2 separate regions of the Homo sapiens genome follow, and region 1 is linked to region 2. The links are contacts of gene promoters, found by promoter capture Hi-C in blood cells and fetal thymus (Javierre and others, 2016). All regions are on one chromosome and are shown on one strand. The core of a region is centred on a gene start or on the middle of the fragment in contact, and the rest is flanking DNA. Distances in the headings are between cores, read along the strand shown.

Region 1 (2,700 bases), core at 172-2,671, 620 kb before region 2:
GGCTGTGGAGCTGCGAGCCGAGAAAGACGCGCAGGTTATGAACCTGGGTGCGTTCATCTCGGGGGACCTGAAGGAGAGGGACTCGTGGAGAGTTGAGGGGTGTTTCGGAGGAGGGGCGCAAGGACTGCTCACAGGACTTGAAGGGCGGCAGGAAGGTGGAGGATTCGGCCCAGGTGCGGGACGCAGGCGGTGGAAGGGAAATGAGCACAAGAGGCGCAGGCAGGAAGGAGAGCGCCTGGTGCGAGAGAGGAAGGAGCGCACCCAGTAAGCGGTGTCGGGGGGGTCGTGAAGCTTGGAGGGCCTCGAGGGGAGGGAGGCGCTTGGGTTGAGGTAGGGCGCCAGATTTCGCAAATCAAAATACAGCACACCCAGTTAAACTCGAATTTCAGATAAACAAATCTTTCTAGAGAAAAATATGTCCTAAATATCGCATGGGATATACTTATACTAAAAAATTATTTGTTGTTTTTCTGAAATTGAAATCTAACTCGGAGTCCTGTATTTTATCTGAGAGCCCCAGCTGGGGACGGGCGCGGGGCCAAGAGAGCTGCGAGGGAGGAGGGGTTGCAAGCTTCTTTCGGGCGGAGGGGTCACAAGGCGAATGGAGAAGGTGACAAGGAGCATGGAGAAACCAAGAAAAGGGCTAACGCTTGGAGAGCAAGGATGGAAAGACGCTCAAAGCGGAGGCGGAACGGTCTGAGTGATTCCAAAACTAGTGTGTCCAAGCTGGTTAGAACTCAGGCAGGCGGGTCCAGAAGCCGAGGGGCCTGACAGATACGCAGGTGAAGTCCATCTGTGGTCCGCGTGCTGGGCGTGGCCACCGGGCTAGTCCAAGCATTCCTGGTAAAGGCTCCTCCAGAGTGGTACCCACAGCGCTCTATTAAGGGCTATTTTAGTTGAGTCATTAGTGGGAAGGACGCTGCCTATCCCCTCCCCCCCCGCCACCCCACTCCCTTCTTCTAGAGATGGAGCCTTGCTCTGTCGCCCAGGCTGGAGTGCCGTGGTGCGATCATCATTCACTGCAGCCTCGAACTCCTGGGCTCAAGCGATTCTTCTGCCTCAGCCTCCCAAGTAGCTGGATGACAGGCACGCACCACCATGTCTGGCTCTCTATCCTTTTTAAATCCCAGAAGTAAAGTTTTCACACCCACTGGAGACAAAAAAAAAATCTAAATTCTGTCACCCTGTAAAACGGTTATGACCCAACTTTCCTATGTCAGGGAGGAAAGTGATTGATTGGGCCCCTCTACCGTGTGATATCACTAGAGCTTCCTTCAGAAATTTGTTTTAAAAGACAGAGAGGGCGCTTTTAAAAAAATGCATAATGGGTCGGGCACAGTGGCTCATGCTTGTAATCCCAACACTTGGGGAGGCTGTGGGAGGATCATTTGAGGCCAGGAGTTCGAGACCAGCCTGGGCAATATTGGAAGACCCAGTCTCTACAAAAAATTAAAAAAAAATTAGCCTCAAATGGTGATGACTGCCTGTAGCACCAGCTACTCAGGAGACTGAGGTGGGAGAATCACTTGAGCCCAGGAGGTTGAGCCTGCAGTGAGCTATGATTATGCCACTGCACTCCAGCCTGGGTGACAGAGCGAGATCATGTCTCAAAAATAAATAAATAAATAAATAAATAAATAAAAATGTAAGGGACCTAACATCCATTAATCACCTATCCCTCTGTGCCCAGAAGCTGGGCTGGATGTCCCCTGGAACCTGAATACATTCTCCCTGCCCTCTGGGGTTCAGGTATGGAATAACATCCCTGTTTAGCAGTCAAGAAAAGCAAGGCTCAGAGAGGAGAGGGCTTTGGGCAGTCAAGAATTCCCAGCCAGTGGAGGAGCTGGGTCTGATTCTGAGTCTTCTAGCTCCTTGCTGCCAGGAGTGGCCAACGTTGGAAATTCAGGCAGCAGTGAGATGAGAAAGTAATTTTGGATGTGGTGTCTTCTCAAGCCATAGGCAAAAGAGAACTCCTTCCAGATTAAATTTGGGGAAGGACTGCCTGGGGGTGCTTTTGTACTGGTTGGTTTTCTGTGTAGAGAGTTCATGCAGCCGCGGGTCTGTACTGATTGGAGCTGAAGTCCCAGGTTAGCACCACCAACAGGGGCTCCCCTGCCACAGCGCAGGAGTGGGGGCCCAGGATGGGTCCAGGCAAAGGCATCAGTGATACTTTCTCATGGTCTGACCGACACCCACAGAATCACACAATGTTAGCCCCTCCCAAGAGATGTCCTTTCTATACGGAGTGGGGGCTGGAGGAACCAGGAGCCTCAAAGCTTTGCTTTCACCTTTGTTTTGCTCTTTTGGGATCTGCCTCCTTATCTGGAGCAGGGTCTTGTGAAGAGACGCAGGGAAAAGTTCACTTTCCACCTCCCAGGGGAGCAGGCAGGAGGGGACTAGTTAGGAGGCAAAAGATGTAGAGAAGTATTTGCTTTTTTCATGGGCTATTTTTAGGAGATAAAGTCAACTGCCTTAAGTGATCAATTGTAATAGAGGGAGATGTTGAAGATGACTTAAAAAACAAACAAAATCCGCAAACAACAAATCTAATATTTATGAAATACCAAATGTCAGGAAGGTACTATTTTAAGTGCTTGAAGTAAATTGTCTCATTTAAGCCTCATAATAACGCTATGGAACAGTGTTATCATGTCTGTTTTACAGATGAGGAACTAAGGCACAGAGAGGTTAAGTGACGTG
Region 2 (2,855 bases), core at 7-2,506:
TGTTTTTTGAGAGGGAGTCTCGCGCTGTCGCCCAGACTGGAGTGCAGTGGCAAGATCTTGGCTCACTGCAAGCTCCGCCTCCCAGGTTCAAGCCATTCTCCTGCCTCAGCCTCCCGAGTAGCTGGGACTACAGGCGCCCGCCACCACGCCCGGCTAATTTTTTGTATTTTTAGTAGAGACAGGGTTTCACCGTGTTAGCCAGGTTGTGTTTTTGTTTTTTTTTTTTTTTTTCAGACGGAGTTTCGTTCTTGTTGCCCAGGCTGGAGTTTAGTGACTGTTGGAGTGAGTGAGCCATCTTGGCCCACGGCAACCTTCGCCTCCCAGGTCAAAGGCTTTTCCTGCCTCAGCGTCCTGAGTAGCTGAGGCTACAGGCATGGGCAACCACGCCTGGCTAATTTTAGTATTGTTAGTAGAGACGGGGTTTCACCATGTTGGCCAGGCTGCTCTAGTACTCCTAGGCTCAAGCGATCCGCCCACCTCGGCCTCCCAAAGTGCTGAGATTACAGAAGTAAGCCACCTTGCCCAGCTCCTTTGTATAAATAAATGATATTGATTTTCTTCTTGCAGCTCAGGAATTAGATCTGTTATTAGAATTTGCTTAAATTTAAGAAATGGCTGGGTACTGTGGCTCACCGCTGTAATCCCAGCACTTCGGGTTGCCGAGGCAGGCGGATTGCTTGCGTCCAAGAGTTCGAGGCCAGCCTCGGCAACACAGTGAGACCCGCCCGCTCTCTGCACCACTCCTTCCCCCCCTCCTTTCCCCGTCTCTACAAAAAATACAAAAATAAATAAATTAGTCCGGCATGGTGGTGACTGCCTGTGGTCCAGCTACGCAGGAGGCTGAGGTGGGAGGATCGCTTGAACCCCGGTGGTCGAGGCTGCAGGGAGCCATGATCGCGCGCGCCACTGAACACCAGCCTGGGCGACAAAGCAAGACCTTGTCCCAAAATAGATTAAATAAATAAATAAATAAATTTAAGGAAAAAGCAACTTGATTCGAAGATAAATAGTGATAGTGCAAGTGGTGCCGAACTAACGATAAATTTGGAAAACAGCGGCCCACGCGCAGAGCCCGTCCCAATTCTGGCAGCCTTTGGATTTGGCTTCCACGTTTTCCAGATTTCCCTCGGCCTCTAGCTCGCTTGCGTCAGAGGGGCCCCGAGGGGCGGCCCACCCGCTAGCCCCGCCCCCAACCGCTCACCGCCCCGCGAGCCCCGCCCCCTCGGCCTCCTCCTCATCGGCCGCCGTTGCGCGGCGCAGAGCGGCAGCAAGATGGCGGCGCAACAGCGGGACTGCGGGGGTGCTGCGCAGCTGGCGGGGCCGGCGGCGGAGGCTGACCCCCTAGGACGCTTCACGTGTCCCGTGTGCTTAGAGGTGTACGAGAAGCCGGTACAGGTGCCCTGCGGACACGTGTAAGCGGCGAGCCCGGGCCTGGTCGGGGGGCGCTTAACTGGGAAGGGAATGGAGCCGAGGAGCGAGATGGGTCTCAGGGCGGGAGCCAGAGGACCCACCCAGAGGGGCCTCCCGGGGGTGTCCCCCGGGGCTCCTAAGGGCCGTGAAAGCTGCCGGGGCGCTCTTCTGTCCCGCCCCGCTCACTCCTAAGTATCCCGTTCCTCCGCCCGTCTTAGCGGGGCAGCTGCTGTCTGTTGAGCGCCTGCGATGTTCCAGGCGGCCTGTCAGTCTCCTTCCCACACGTGATAGTGGACTCGTGCCCTGCGGGGACTTTAGGCTCCGAAGTCCGCCCTTGGAGAGCCGACGTTTCCTTTCTAGTCCACGTCGCTCTTAAAGCATAGGACATTTGGCGTCGTGTCTAGCTGTGGCGAGTTATTCTACTGTGCACTAAAGTCGGGAGAAACGCTGAACTAGACTAAAACAACAAAAGGGAAGTCTTTATGGGGATCTGGCCAGTTTGCCCTTAGCTGTGAAAGGGGGGTGGGAGTTGGCAGATGGGATTGTTAGCATTCTACTTCCTGTGTAGGAGGTTTGTTTCTTTCAGTTTTCAATTAAGCCTTCATGACCTGAATATTGTGAATAGAGTGGTTATAATGATTAAAGCAGATATGTGTATAAATGTCCAGTCCAGGTCCTGGGCTGTGGCCGGGGCTTTCGAGGTTGGTCAGGTTGGTCGATTTGAATCTAAGCCTTGTTCCATCAGACGCACAAACACATCTGAGTTGAAAGAATTGTAGACAACGTGGCCACCTGCTTCTTGCCTCAGAATTGGCTTTTCCTCTGGCCCCTCTCAGTGCTTATCGTGGGATCACCTTGGCATTGGTCTTGGCAGCGGGCACAGTAGCCATTGCACTCCATGGGCATTATTCTATAGCCACCCTGCAGCGGGGGAGGGTTGGCAGCCATTTTACAGGTGAATACACTGAGGGTCCGAGGCTCTCTTAGGGAAGGGTCACCGTGGCCTAGCTCTTCCCAGATGTACTGCAGGTGACCATTTCAGTAGTCCAGAGAACAGTGCTTGGCACCTAGCTGGCTGCTTTTTGCTTCATCATGTTGCTTTAGGCTATTCATCTTTGCAATTCGGTTAGCCTGGAACTCTTCCCCCCACCCCTCCCTTTTCAGGCTTCAAGTCCCAGGTTAAGTTACCTCACCAAATACCATCCCCATCTAAATTACTTCCCCCACTTCCTTTCTGGGACTTAACTTCCTTCTCCTTGCTTGCACAGAGCAAAACTTAACAGCTCATGACGGAGTGGCCATATCTTTATTGCCCCTGAACTGACTGGAATGGCCTCTGTGTGCCAGATTTTGGGGTAGACTCTGCCTTCAGAGTTTACAGTCCAGTGAATTGATTATAAATAAGTACCAATGACTGGTCAAACTATTGTAAAAATTCATTCTGC

The links. Contacts are between HindIII fragments. The CHiCAGO score rates a contact against its expected background, and 5 or more counts as called.
Region 1: a contact is called between a fragment that was not itself captured here and the fragment with the promoter of RNF114 in region 2, in 1 of 17 cell types (naive CD4 T cells). The highest score is 5.3, in naive CD4 T cells.

The regions. Positions count from the first base shown.
Region 1 is chr20:49,318,829-49,321,528 of GRCh38, forward strand. No RefSeq gene overlaps it. Among named protein-coding and RNA genes, the nearest start is that of SNORD12, 39 kb to the left of the region's middle. RefSeq lists enhancers at 1-207, 208-789. The HindIII fragment of the contact is 1,705 bases long and covers 570-2,274 here.
Region 2 is chr20:49,935,141-49,937,995 of GRCh38, forward strand. RNF114 (ring finger protein 114) reads left to right here and starts at 1,257. Exons shown (of 6, transcript NM_018683.4): 1 at 1,257-1,412. The coding sequence starts at 1,273. RefSeq lists silencers at 458-537, 1,104-1,293, 1,752-2,046, 2,332-2,626 and an enhancer at 906-1,511. The HindIII fragment of the contact is 14,536 bases long and covers 1-2,855 here.